5 separate regions of the Homo sapiens genome follow, and all the other regions are linked to region 4. The links are contacts of gene promoters, found by promoter capture Hi-C in blood cells and fetal thymus (Javierre and others, 2016). All regions are on one chromosome and are shown on one strand. Each heading gives the region's core, a stretch centred on a gene start or on the middle of the fragment in contact. The rest is flanking DNA. Distances are from core to core; before and after follow the strand shown.

The links. Contacts are between HindIII fragments. The CHiCAGO score rates a contact against its expected background, and 5 or more counts as called.
Region 1: a fragment that was not itself captured here is called in contact with the fragment with the promoter of ZC3H12C in region 4 in 1 of 17 cell types (M2 macrophages); the score reaches 5.4 in M2 macrophages.
Region 2: a fragment that was not itself captured here is called in contact with the fragment with the promoter of ZC3H12C in region 4 in 2 of 17 cell types (M0 macrophages and M2 macrophages); the score reaches 7.3 in M0 macrophages.
Region 3: a contact is called between the fragment with the promoter of C11orf65 here and the fragment with the promoter of ZC3H12C in region 4, in 1 of 17 cell types (monocytes). The highest score is 5.1, in monocytes.
Region 5: a fragment that was not itself captured here is called in contact with the fragment with the promoter of ZC3H12C in region 4 in 1 of 17 cell types (total B cells); the score reaches 5.4 in total B cells.

The regions. Positions count from the first base shown.
Region 1 is chr11:108,732,097-108,734,796 of GRCh38, reverse strand. All of the region lies in intron 13 of DDX10 (DEAD-box helicase 10), which reads right to left. All of the region lies in intron 2 of LOC124902750 (a long non-coding RNA gene), which reads left to right. Among named protein-coding and RNA genes, the nearest start is that of DDX10, 68 kb to the right of the region's middle. RefSeq lists an enhancer at 906-1,025. The HindIII fragment of the contact is 570 bases long and covers 1,031-1,600 here.
Region 2 is chr11:108,689,431-108,692,130 of GRCh38, reverse strand. It overlaps DDX10 (DEAD-box helicase 10), which reads right to left. Exons shown (of 18, transcript NM_004398.4): 8 at 93-255. It also overlaps the pseudogene RPS2P39. Among named protein-coding and RNA genes, the nearest start is that of DDX10, 26 kb to the right of the region's middle. The HindIII fragment of the contact is 1,540 bases long and covers 490-2,029 here.
Region 3 is chr11:108,466,128-108,468,827 of GRCh38, reverse strand. It overlaps C11orf65 (chromosome 11 open reading frame 65), which reads left to right and starts at 1,299. Exons shown (of 9, transcript NM_152587.5): 1 at 1,299-1,357. RefSeq lists a cis regulatory region at 1,215 and enhancers at 1,143-1,287, 1,228-2,080. The HindIII fragment of the contact is 4,195 bases long and covers 1-2,135 here.
Region 4 is chr11:110,092,031-110,094,889 of GRCh38, reverse strand. It overlaps ZC3H12C (zinc finger CCCH-type containing 12C), which reads right to left and starts at 1,498. Exons shown (of 6, transcript NM_033390.2): 1 at 1,458-1,498. The coding sequence starts at 1,478. RefSeq lists silencers at 1,139-1,608, 1,669-1,928, 2,229-2,288. The HindIII fragment of the contact is 5,266 bases long and covers 1-2,859 here.
Region 5 is chr11:111,501,998-111,504,697 of GRCh38, reverse strand. All of the region lies in intron 1 of BTG4 (BTG anti-proliferation factor 4), which reads left to right. Among named protein-coding and RNA genes, the nearest start is that of MIR34BHG, 7.3 kb to the left of the region's middle. The HindIII fragment of the contact is 2,053 bases long and covers 239-2,291 here.

The DNA.
Region 1 (2,700 bases), core at 66-2,565, 1.4 Mb after region 4:
TGACCTTCAAGAACAGCCTGTCCTATTTCACATTTCTTTCATTACCTGTGTAACTACCTTAAAATAAAGATAAATACGGCCTGTAAAAGTAGCTGTTTAAACTTCAACCACAAAAGTAGATTTAAAAATTCAGTAGTTAGCAGATGTTATAAATATTGAATATTGTATAAAAGAAGGAGATAAAGGAAAACGACTCAATATTTGATATAATGATTCAGCATGTTACAGAATAAACATCATGCCAAAACCAGCTTTAAGCTTTCCACTGAAAATTTACATCCTCAGGAAGTCATCTGCATACCAAACTCAAATAGGAAAAAAAATACATAAAGCAACTCAATATATGCATCTAAGCTTCATGTTACACAATAACAACTCCTTTTGAATTGGAACAAAGCTTAGATTACAAAAAAAGAATTAAGCACAGGATGCCAAAAAACAGAAAAGACACCTATAAGACAAATGAGCATATATACCAAACTATTTCAGCTGGCAACATCTGAGATCATGCTACCATTGTTTCACTTCATGGTAGCAAAAATTCGGAGTACAGTAGTCTTGACTTTAGAGTTCTTCCTTCTGTTTAAGTCAACTGAACATTACATAAGGCCCCTGAACACAAATCACCAGGTATGGAAGAGATAAAAATTAAGAGACATGTGGCTACATTATGAAATGTCAAGAAAAAGAAAAAAATACTAGCAAAATAGACCATTGGAATCCAGAGGTCAGTGGGTTGAAGAAGTAAGGGATGGCTTCAAAGAAGAGACAAGATAAGCACTGCATCTTGAAAGATGTGAAATGCTGGAGTGGGAAGAAAATAATCCAGGAAGGAATCCTTCACTGTTTAAGTGGAAACTGGGAAGAATGGTCTCGCAGGACAATAGGATAGGGGCTAGCTTACAAAACCCAACTGCAAGGGTGAACTTAAGGGTAGCATGGAAGGTAAACCACTTGAAAAAAAATACTAATTTGACCAAGGTTCACAGGAAGATGACTCAGAAGAACAACGAGAACCAATTATGAAGCTTATCCCCCCGAGCCAAGAATGAGGTAATAAGAATCTGGGGGCAGAATGGCAGTGTAAGTGGGAAGTGAAAATGGAACACTAAAAGCCACCACTAAATGTAGAAATGACGGGAATCAAAGCAAGCACAATCATACCGAGGCAAGTCAGAGGGGCCTAAGTACAGACTCCAGTGCTAGCGCTTCACTAACTATGCAACATTAGGCAAGGAAGTAAGTGAACCTGTCAAAGCCTGTGTCTGAACTTGTAACATGACAACAACACTACACAAGGCTGTGGTAAGAATTTAAATAAGTGAGATATGATAGTCAAAGTGCATGGTAAGTTATAAAAAAATTGATAGATGTTAATCATTTTCCAGTACTTATTTTACAAATACTTAGTCCAAGTTCCTAAAAGTCACTAAGTACCTAACACAGTCCCTGGCATCCGTTAGGTAACTGCTGCTGAAAGGAGGGAAAAAGAGAGAAAGAGAAAAAGTGAAGAGACAAGAGGCAGAAACATCCTAGCTCCCACATAGGAGAATCTTGATTTGGAACTTGGAATCTTTTTATAAGAGTATACTTATAAGCTTCAAAGTTAGCTAATCTGTGTTTTAACACCAACAGTGAGTTCTTACAGTACTAAAAAAAGAAAAAGCTACTAAAAAAAAAAAAAAAAGTAGGACTAAATCAATGTAAACAGGATCTGGAATCAACTCTAAGGTACAATGAATAATCTATGGGTATCATTCAAATCTTAATTAAAACTGACCTATGTTTACTTTTAAGAAAGCTTTAAAAGGACATTTGTTGAGCTAAAATGGAATCTACCCAGTCTCATTTCTAAAAAGGTTTAAACTGAAAAAGAAAAGAAAGCATATGCTTAGAGATTTCATTCTCACATTTAAGGAAATAAGTGTTCCAAAAATAAATTTTAATTTAATCATTTTAATTGTATGTTCATGCTCTTATCTAACACTGTCTCCCTGGAGGTCAACTTTCTGAACACCCAACAAGACAATTAGCCAAAACAAGGTTCTTCCCTATGGTGGGAGGTCAACCAGCCATCTCTTACTGCCTTTGTGCCTGATCACTACACCTGCGCTCTCTCCTGCACATGTCTTATTGCTTCATCACTCGTGGCACTTCTCCACTGCTAAGAAAATCTTGTTGTCCTTCACTGCATCGATCTCGTCAAACAGAAAAGGATTGTGACAAGGCAGCATTCCAGAAGGCCTTGCTTGCACCTGGCACTCAGTACCTCTCGTCTCCATTTACGCCGAAGTCTAAAGGCAAACATTCATTTTATACTCCAAGTGTGCGCACACAATGAGTAGCCCAAAATTATTTACAATACTGTCAATTACACTGACATTACCCAATTACAGAAAGCAAACTACACACAAATAATGGTAGGCACGACAGCAGAGAAAGAAAATGTGACTTAGCATCACAAATAGGTTTAACTGCTAACTTCACCACTGTGACCTTGGACAAGTCACTTAAAAGCCTTCCTTTCCTCCTCCGAAATTTTAATAGCTACCTTTCTTGTCATAAGGAAAAATGAGAACTTATGCAGAAAGTGTTCAGTATATGGTAAAATGCCAAATAATTATGGTCTTAATTATAATGATATGATTATTAGACATATTCCATAAAATCTACAATCCAATGGGTTCCTACTGGCTCCAA
Region 2 (2,700 bases), core at 10-2,509, 1.4 Mb after region 4:
TGTTTGAGTCTATCAGATTTCCCAAAATATACTTTATAAGCAAATTACATTTCACACAATCACAGAAATTTCATGATAGGAAGTTTTCTTACCCAGACCCCTGGCTGCAATATCAGTAGCAAAGAGTACTGCAGCTCTCTTACGGACAAACTCATTATAGACTTCCATTCTTCTCATTTGCTGCTGTCGACCATGGAGTGCAAGGATAGAAACACCAGGACGTAGCCGGCAAAACACTCGGTACAGATACTGGACCTGGGGCATCAACAGAAGAATAAGTTTGCTTATGGCAGATGGCAGCAATAAAGCTTTTCTCTTATCAACGTATCCCACAGAGTCTCAACAGCAGAGCAATGTGATACCCAATTCCAACCAAGTAAAAAAAGTAAAGAAACTCTTATTTAATCACAAGCAATTTAATTTCCTTCCCTCCTTTAATTCACATTTCTATTTCCTAACGTCACAGAATTGCATCTTAAGTTTGAAGCTTGAAAGCCTTTTATTGATGTTATCATAACTCATTTTCTACAAAAGAAAAAACTTATTTTAATTTCCTGTGGCCATAGGCTGACTGAACTTTCCTCTCAGACTCAGCAATTATTAAAATAATTAGTAATACAGAACTGATCAAACCAAGAAATATGTTGGGATTTGATTTAAAAAACTGTTAGACATAAATAAAAACATTGTAAATATATCTCAATGTGTGGGACTATATAGAGCTAATTGTTCTGGTTCTCTTTTTGTACCCATAAATGGATACTATGGATTACTAGACTGAAAAGAGTTCAGCATTATTTTATTTTCTCTAATATGGGGGTTAAAATCTGTTCACATAAATAAAACAAACTCAAAGGAAGTTTAATTCTGAGCTCCTATAAAATAGGCCAAAAGTCATAATGGATTATTCCAAATAATTTTTGGTGATCCAGTCGCTCAATTAAAGAGAAAGACCCCATTAAAGTCTCTCTTCAATTTTGCTGACAGTAAAGAATGGGAAACCAAGTGAATTGCTTGTTACCCAATCACTAGCCATTCACTTTCTCAAATGCAATTTGCTACTGCCAGGGAGGTTCTGATTCTGGGACAATATATCAGGCAAGTATCAGAGATAGCTGGACTTAGGCCTTTCTTTCGTAAAGATGTAAAAACAGCTTCTCCAAGAAAACATCAAATGGCAGATGATGCTGGTGCAGCGGAAGGGTCCACGGGACAAGGAATTGGAAACCACAGAGGCTTCGATGGAGGCTTCAGCAATAGCACCTGCAACCAAGGCCACTGAGGCAAAGCCAAGGGGTGGATGCCAGTCACAAAGCTGTGCTGCTTGGTGAAGGACATGAAGACCAAGTCCCTGGAGGAGATCTATCTCTTCTCCTGCCCATCAAGGAGTCTGAGGTCCTTGACATTTTCCTGGGGGCATCTCTCAAGAATGAGGTTTCAAAGATTACATGGCGCAAAAGTGGCCCACACTGGCCAACGCACTGGATTCAAGGCATGTTGCCACTGGGGACTACAATGGCCACACTGATACGGGTATCAGGTGCTCCAAGGAGGTAGCCACTGCCATTTGAGGAGCCATTATCCTGGCCAAGCTCTCCATTGTCCTTGTGCCAAGAGGCTACTTGGGGAACAAGATCGGCAAGCTCACCAGCCCTTGCAGGGTGACAGACCCTCTCTGTGCTGGTGAGACTTATCCCCACCTCAGGAGGCACTGGTATCATCTCAGCCCCATGCCCAAGAAGCTGCTGCTGATGGTGGGTATTGACAATTGCTATACCTCGACCAAGAGGCTGCATTGCCACCCTGGGCAACTATGCCAAGGCCACCTTTGATGCCATCTCCTACTCTAAAGAGTAGAAACTTTAAACAGAACTTTAAATAGAACTTTCAGAATCATTTCCTAGCACCTAGATGCCAAAACCAACTAACTCTTCTTTAGGAGATGTGAAGTTTATTGTTTTGTTGTTGGCTACTGCTCAGGATACACTTCCAAGTTGCCTTGAGGAATGCTCCCAGGAGACTGGAAGCTTTGAAAATCTAAAATCGGTCCTTGAAAAACTGAAGTCTTTTTTTTTTTTTTAAAGACAGGGTGTCGCCATCTTGCCCAAGCTGGTCTTAAACTTCTAGACTCAAGCAATCCTCCTACCTCAGCCTCTTAAAGTGCTGGGATTACAGGCGTGAGCCACCGCACCAAGGCTGAAGTCATTCTTTACATGGTAAAATAAGGTTCAGTAGACAACAGCATCAGATCACCACTTAACTTCCCATAAGCTAGAGAGAAACCCATCTACATATTTATCATGGAAAGTTATTGCAAAAGCTGTAAATCTAGAATTGATCTACTACATTCCCTATTAAGTCATTGGGAATCTGAAATATAGTACAGGAGAAGAGGCACACGCACGCACACATGCACAAAGACCGTAGTCCCTTCTCCTTAAGAGAGGAGACAAAGTTCTCTTAGACATCTCTGAAATCCTTATTCTTTATTCCTAGCACAGGGCTAGTGTTCAAGAAGTGTTTATTAACTAAGATATAAACAAAACACTTCAGAAGGTTAGGGGAGGGAACAACTGATTCTTTAAAAAGGGAGTGTCAGAAAGGGACTTTCAGGCATAACATTTGAACTTAGCCTCAAAGTAAGTATTTCCCCAGATTTAGATGAAGAGATGCAGGGAGGGCATTCCAGACAGATCAGCA
Region 3 (2,700 bases), core at 50-2,549, 1.6 Mb after region 4:
CTGGCCTGAATTTAAATTTTTTAACCCAGTTTCTATTAGATTGAAAATTAAGATATACATAATGTTTCCATGACTATATTTTTACAGTTTATTGTTCATAACTACTGTGTATTAATGCATCAAGGCAACTACATAAAGAGGAACTGAAGCTCACCCCTTGCTTATGATTGTGATGATTTTAAAGAACTCTGGAAGTTCAGTGAGTCACTGAATTAACCTACCAAGAATTTTTTCTGTACAAATGTTTTCATTATACAGGGAAATTTCTCTTCAGGTGTTTCTTTTCCCTCCTTAAAAGTTTATCTTCCTTACAAACAAATTATATTCCATGCATGAACATAGGACGAACATAGCAAAACTGGGCAGTTCTGAACAAGATTTTTTCACATTGCAATAATCTGTGACCAACTAAAGCACTGCCAAAGTGTCAGACTCAGAATTCAAGCAAGTCAGACTTGCTTTAGATAAGCAGTGCTTGCATTATTTAAGGTCATTTGAAAACTCATTCAAGAGGTCGTCTGTTTTCACTTAAAGCAGTTTAGCTTAACCAGCTGAAGAGCTTACATTTAGAAATAACATTGGACTGCAAGTCACGTATTCTTTGACCTTGAGCAAGACCTGTCAAATAGCTAGAAGGATCAGTTGTCTCATTTTCAAATGAATAAATTAAACTAATTAAATAGGCCGGGCGCGGTGGTTCACGCCTGTAATCCTAGCACTTTGGGAGGCCAAGGCGGGAGATGGGGTAGGGGGGGATCGCTGGAGCCCAGGAGTTCAAGACCAGCCTGGACAACATGGAGAAACCCTGTCGCCACTATTAATAAAAATAGAAAAATGAGCCTGGCGTGGTGGTGCACTCCTACGGTCCCAGCTACTCGGGAGGCTGACGTGGGAGAATCACCTGAGCCAGGGGAGTTCCAGGCTGCAGTGAGCCGAGATCGCGCCACTGCACTCCAGCCTCGGCCACAGATTGAGACCCTATCTCAAGAAAAATTTTACAAAAATTAATAGAAAATATTTCATTATATTTCTCAACATCTTTAAGGTTCTTGGTTGAAATGACTGGGCTTTATTATATACTAAGCCCAACTTCGTAGACAATCACTTTGCTTTCCCTTCCAAAATCCTTTGCCTCAAAGCCACTGACAATCGAAAGCGGGCTTCTAACAGAACCAGCAGCCTTCACAAGCGGTTGGTCTATATCCCCTGCACTTTGTCAGAGCGCGAATAGAGGAAAGGCGGGGCCTAGAAGGCGGGGCTAGGAGGGCAATGGGGCGGGACAGAACGGATTGAGTTACGTCATTTCCGCCTGCGACGTTACCTAGGAGTCCAGCGGCGCCCGGGCCAGCAGCGATTGGTAGGTGAAGGGAATAGTGTCCCTTCTCTCAGCGCGTACTACTGTTCCGGTAGCCTTTGTGCCCACTGGTTTGAGCCTTCGTTGTTTCAAGGCCCTAAAGAACCCATACCCTTGATACCATTCCCCATCCGCCCCTCTTAAGGACGTTTCATTCCTCTAAAGCCCTCCCAGCGAGGCCTCCAGCTGGTTTACAGTCCTGCCCGGGAGTAACCCCTTCCTCAGAGCTCCTTTCCTCGCCCTCGGTGAAGTTGCGTCGGGCTGGTTGACAAGTCCTTACTGCTCATACTGCGCCTTCACAGATCCCCACACCCCAATCCTCCGCAAAGATATTACTCCGTCCACCTTCCCGCTGACCGGGAAGTACACATTAATCTTCCTTAGATTTTTCCTCATTTCTTTCCTTTGCCCCCTCCCATTTGTTTTACGTCTTTTCAGTTTTTTTAGAGATGGAAAAGGGAAACGCGTTTTTAAAGAATAGGTTAGTTTTTCTTCTCCTGCCCCTAGCATCAAGGACCACAGGTAAAAAGGAAAAGCGAAATTACGAAACTTATAAAGGCCACGCGAATCATTTGTTTATTCAATAAATTTAGTAGAGGAAACAAAATAGGACGTATACAGGTTCCAATTCAAGCAAAGTAAAGATTGTTTGCTGCTTTAAAAGTGAAACCAAGAATCCAAACACGTCTTGTGGGCTTTTTTCCACGAAGCGTAAAAATAAATAAGTGAAAACATCATCTATTATGATAAAAAATTTTATTGATTAGGGATATAATAAGCTTGGAAAATACTTATCTGTGAATCTACAAGTGGCACATGGGTGTAGTAAAATACTTCATTGCCTGAGCAGTTGTTTGATAGTACATTTTATTTGGTTAGTTTTTTGTTGTTGTTTGTTTTTGAGAAGGCATCTCGCTGTGTTGCCCAGGCTGAGTGCAGTGGCGTGATCTCAGTTCACTGCAACCTCTGCCTCCTGGGTTCAAGTTATTCTCCTGCCTCAGCCTTCCGAGTAGCTGTGACTGCAAGTGTGCGCCACCACACCCAGTTTATTTTTGTATTTTTACTAGAGACAGGGTTTCACCATATTGGCCAGGCTGGTCTCAAACCCCTGACTTAAGGTGATCTGCCCACCTTGGCCTCCCAAAATGTTAGGATTACAGGCCTGAGCCACCAGACCCGGCCTGGTAGTACATTTTAGTATCTTAAAACTTATGAAGGGTTTTCACAATGGTTATTTTATCTGGAGCATCATAATAACCATATAAAGTCGATCTTATTTCTTATCTAAAGCCAGCAACGGTCCCACCCTCCTTTCTGCTCCAGATGGTGTCCTCTTACACCTACTC
Region 4 (2,859 bases), core at 249-2,748:
TCTTTCATGTAAAAATATTAAAACATTTTGAACTATGGGTACATAGTCAACAGGCCATTCTATTTTTATGGTACCATCCAGTAGACAGATTTAGGTAACTGGAAATAAGCATGCCAAATTGTTGAAGAAAACAGGTGAACAGGGGGTCAAGTCCGAAATAGGCATCTTCCTGGGCTTATCACACTAAGATTAATTTTACCAATGTTTGATGAAGCTATCATGTAGTCAAACACAGAGAACCCTAAACTTAAGAAACTGCTACTAAAATTAATTGTACATGTGATTAAATGAATGGAAGTCATACCCTCTAAATCCTAAGTCCATTAAGACAAAAACATTTATAACACACTGTATTTATGACTTCTTGTGGTTCTTGAAAAGTCAAAAATTGTGTTTGAGGTTTATCTCGTTTTCCGTTTATAATATGCATTTTAAAAGTGGAAAAACTCAAGCACGTAACAAGTGAAAAACTGAACAACGTTGCCAAATTCCTAAACATACAATACTTAGCTCCAATTATCTCTGCATCTATTCTAAAATGGTTTAAAAAAAGTCTGAATCAATAAGCGCCTGATGGGCCTGGGATACTCCAATACAGTCTTGTCAACCAATAGGAAAACTTTTCCTAAATCTGGATTCGTCTTTCATCTCTTTATCACAAAACACCGAACACAAACCGAGATTGTTAACGGATAACCAAATGGCAAGAACCCCAGACAGAGTAATCAGTACTTGGATGTTAGGGCTGTTTTTAAGGACTTGAAATGAGACAGCTTAGGGAAGAAATGCGGGATTCATTTCTCCAAGTTATATTTGTAACACTTCTTAATACGGAGTTAAAAATGTGAACAGCCGAGCTAAAATGAACGCAGCGTGTAAAAGGGATCTGGACTGGAGCCTGGGGGTGAAGGAGGGACGAGGGGGGAGTGAGGGGCTTTCGTGACGCTCGGCCTGGGGTTGCTGGCGATCTGGATGGAGGGATGGATAGTTAAGCGAATGGCCAGGGCTGGATCCGAGATGCCAAGAGATGTCTCGCCCCACGAGCGCGCGCGAGTCTGAGCCGCTGGGGCAGCGCAGTGTGTCCGTTTCCATCCGCGGCGCCCGAGCCCGCCTCCATGTTCGCGATCTATGCCCCCGGGCGGGCGGGGACCGGTGCCTTAGGCCGCGGGGCCGGGAAGCCCGGCCTCACCTCGCCCGAAATCCCGGCGGGGACGGCGTTGCCCGAGGGGAGGATGCGCTGGGCTTTCCGCTCGGCCCCACCTGAGCGACCGGAGCTCGGTGACTCGACCTCCGGAGCCCGACCCGCCTGGGCCTGGAGATCACACGGCGAGGTCGCTGCGGCCCCGGCGCCCTCCGCCTGGCGCCCGGGCGCGGCCCCGCGGCCCTCCCCACGACCGGCTACCCCAGGACCACTCTCGCCGCGGTCCGCGTCCCCCACCCCCTTCCCGAGGACAAACCTGGGAGCCGCCACCCGGCATAGCCAGCCCCGCGAGAAAGCGGCGAGCGGGCGGCGGGGCCCGCGGAGAAGCGGCCACCGCGGCCCTCCCGCGCCAAGCCGCGCCCGCCCGCGCGCCCTCTCCGCGGGCCGCAGCCCCGGCGCCCCCTCCCTGGGTTGCACAACTCACAGCCCCAACGCGCGCGCACTCGAATCTGTTGCTCAACCTACTTGCATTCTCTTCTCCGCAGCCATCACTACATGCCCTGGAGCTGGGGCAGCCCCGGGGCCCTCCGGCAGGCGGCCGCCTCTCGCCTCAGCCCTGGGCTGCCGCGGCCGCCGCTAGGGCGCGGGGCGAGCGCGAGGCTCCCTCATGCCTCCCGCCCGGACAGCTGGCCGCACGCCAGGGCCCCGGCTCGGGCGCGCCCGAGCGCTGGGCTCGGCTCGGCCCTGCCCTTCGTCCGTGCCGCTGCTCCGCGGGCGAGAGCGAACCCGGCTCCGCCACCTCGCTCCGCGCTCCTCGCCCGCCCGCCCGCCCGCAGCCACCGCAGCCGCGCCGCTTCCTCCTCCCCTTCCCTCTTTTCCTTCTCCTCCGTCGCCGCCTCTGGAGCCGAGGTTGGCAAACCAGCACCTGCTGCTGGAGAACGCCGAGAACTGAAACAGGAAACCCTGAGCCAAGGGGAAAACCCGAGAGGCGTGGAGAGGGGTGAGGGGAGCTGCTGGAACCTGTCGGGCTCGACCCAGCCGCTGGGGCTGCCCGAGGTTCCCGCGCCGCCTCCCCTCGCGCCTATTCCCTGCCCCGGCCCAACCCAGCGGTCCCGACCTCCCCGCGCCTCTCCCCCGACCTGGTGCAGGACGGCGCCTTTCCGCTCGGCGACACCTTCTCCACCCAGCAGTAACACTGATCATGTCCCGGGCAGTCAAGGAGATCGACGGGCCGCCTTCTTAGGGCAGGTTCCCCGTAGTTGTTTACTTATCAATATTCCGTGATGAGGAAAAACCACACCCTGCATTAGCAAGGCCAATAAAAGAATTTAAACAAATGAAGCTGTTGGGATTTCACCCAGGGATAGGACTTCTTTCAGCAAGGAAATTGGCTTTGATGGAAATGGCAATCGTGTCAAAATCGAGGTTGAACCCAAGATACATCCAGATCTCTTTCAGGAGATCGGAAGGAAACAGCCCTTTGCACAGAGGTGGGCGCCTGAATCGCAGGCTGAAAAGCACCGGGAGCAGAGAGCCTTTCTACTTCTGTGAATCGTACAACACCCAGCACAAACTAAGTCAATGTTTCAGAAATGTTCAAATAACCTTATTCGCCTGTCCTTGGAATCATTACGAGCAGCCTAGGGCAGGATGAGTCTGCTTCTGGAGTGAGAGGGAGGGACACTGAATGGGTTGTGCCCCTACCATATGCCACGGGC
Region 5 (2,700 bases), core at 16-2,515, 1.4 Mb before region 4:
ATTGTCAGTGAACAGAGATAATTTGACTTCTACTTTTCCAATTCAGATGCCTTTTATTTTTTTCTCTTGCCTGATAGCTCTGGCCAGGACTTCCAGTACTATGTTGAATAGGAGTTATCTTGGTTTCTAACTTGAAACGTTATATAAATGTATGTATTTTTTGTGGTCTTTCAAACAATGCCACTTACATTGTGAATGCTCAGTAATGCAGATAGAAAATACAAATTAGGAAGAAGCTTGTGGCGGATAAAACACTTGCTTAGTATTATTGGTAAAGGAATTTTATTTTGATTAGGCTGCACTAAAATTAATTTCTTTTGAGTTCAAATCAACATTGTATGGCTGTAGAATTTTATTAGATAATGTTTTGGGAAATGCAATTTTGTTTCAGCAATTAATGTAACTTCCTTTTATGTGGCTTGACCATAATGGAACTGAGTTTATGTGTGGGTTACAGAATCAGTTCATTATTTTATAAAATAGTGCTACTTGCTTGCTGTTGTTAAAAAAATACTTTCTGTCAGAAGTGGACTTTTGCTAAAACATCTATACCTTTCCCCTCTTTAGCAATAACATGTATTTGTGAATGGAGGGGTGAGACTACGGATATAACTTGTAGTTTAGGGAGGGAAGCTAAAGAAATGAAATGGGGTTATGATAAGACTGGTTATTACATCACAAGTCCAGCAAATTTAACATTCAATTCAGATGATATTTTAAAATTACTTTGTCTATTTTAAAACTTTTATAAGCATAACTATTTTCATTTTATAAGTGAAGTTTAGCAAAAACCAAGAAGACAAATGTAGAACCAGATTTTCGAGTTTTACCTTCATCGATGAACTTTGGGGCTTGACTATTCCTTAGCCATCAAGTTGAATTTCCTAATTTTAAAATGAAGAATGCAATTCTAGAAACTATTACTTGTACAAGGTCATGTCAGTCATATTCATGTTTTATACCATTTGATTCTCTGTTACAGGCATAATAGGAAATAAAATATGTGTATGTTGCTTCACTGCCTTTCTGTTCTTCATCCTCACTCCAAATGGCCAGAACCTCTTATTTCTTGTTTTCTGTGGTTCTTCGCCCAGACATAATCCCCTCACCCAAACAGAACACCATCCTGTTGCTCTACTATGGATAGTTCACTGGACATTTTCAAAAAGATATCCTTGAAAGACAAGGTTTTAAGCAAGGGAACAAATGTCTTATAATGAGAATTTTAGACATGACACAAGGATAGTGGGAGAGTTGTTCAAATTTCAGCAGTAATTTTCTCTTCTACTTAGCTCTGGGATTGGCTTAGGCCAGACCAGGTTGGTCTTTCTGCTAAATTCTGACATCTTGTCAGTGGACATTACTACTTGGGTATTTAATTGCCATTGAAAGCTCAGTATACCTCAATCTGAATGAATCACCATTTGTTTTATACCGACTCTTCCACTGAACTTCATTCTTTCAATGATAACATTAATCTGTTGGTTACAAGTGTTTGAAACTTGGGGTAAATTTTGAGTATTTCATTTCCCAAACTTTACATCCAAGTAGTCACTTGTGTATGTATTTGGTTTCCCTCTCTAGATGATAAGCCTCTTGAAAGGAAAGTTGAATTTTGTTTTTACCCCCAGCCCCACTAATACTTAGTGTCTGTGAAGTAGGTGGTCAGTAAATAGTCACTAAGTGAGTGTTAATTAAAACAGAAGGTGTAGTTGTCATTAATGTAAAGGAGGTGATTTAAATAAGGTGTTTCAAGTCATAAACAAGTAACGGAAGGAAACCTTGCATGATGTTTACTTTTTATTTGATTGTTCTTTCCTGAAATCTAAGTACATTGTTATTCTACTGTTCTATTCATAACTTTCAAGGCCTGCCTGGGCCTGTTGCAGAAAATAATGCTAGGAGAGGGTTCAAAACCTCATTAATGTACTTCACCAACTCAAAGTGCAAGGGAACAGTTTGTCATCAGGAAGATGAAGTAATGAAAGAATTATAAAAACACCTGGCACCATTCTATTATTGTAAATGCAAACTGACCATTTGAAAAGAAAAAAAATTTTGTGTTTGTTAATGCATCTGTTGCCTTTAGTTCAGAAGCAAAATTTCAGCAGTATACAAGGAGTTACCCTAATTTTCAGCTTTGTCCCTTGTAACATAAATTTTAAAAAATAATCTTTGCAAAAGTTACCCTAGCAAATGGCTAGAAAATACGAGAATAAATGATGCAAATTTGTCCTAATAATCTGTTAAACTTAAGGCATTATTAAGCAATCAAAAGTGTAAAATAAGCTTAAAATCTTCTTCACAGCTAAGGCGGTATCTATCTTAATGATTTCCACTTTTGCTGCACGTTAGAATCGCTTGGGGAACTTTTAAAAATCCTGATGTGCAGGTTGCACTCTATACCAATTAAGTCAGAATGTCTTGGCCGGGCGTGGTGGTTCACACCTGTAATCCTAGCACTTTGAGAGGCCAAGGCAGGAAGGTTCCTTGAGCCCAGGAGTTCAAGACCAACCTGGGCAACATAGGGAGACTCCATCTCTGTTGAAAAAAAAAAAATGTCTGGGGTAAGGGATAGGAGGCAGACATTGGTATTTTTAAAAGATCTTCAGGTGATTCCAAAGTGCAACAGTTTAGGTACCCCAGCCACTGAGGAAGAGGAATGACAACTACATCATGGACAGCTGAAACAAACAAGAT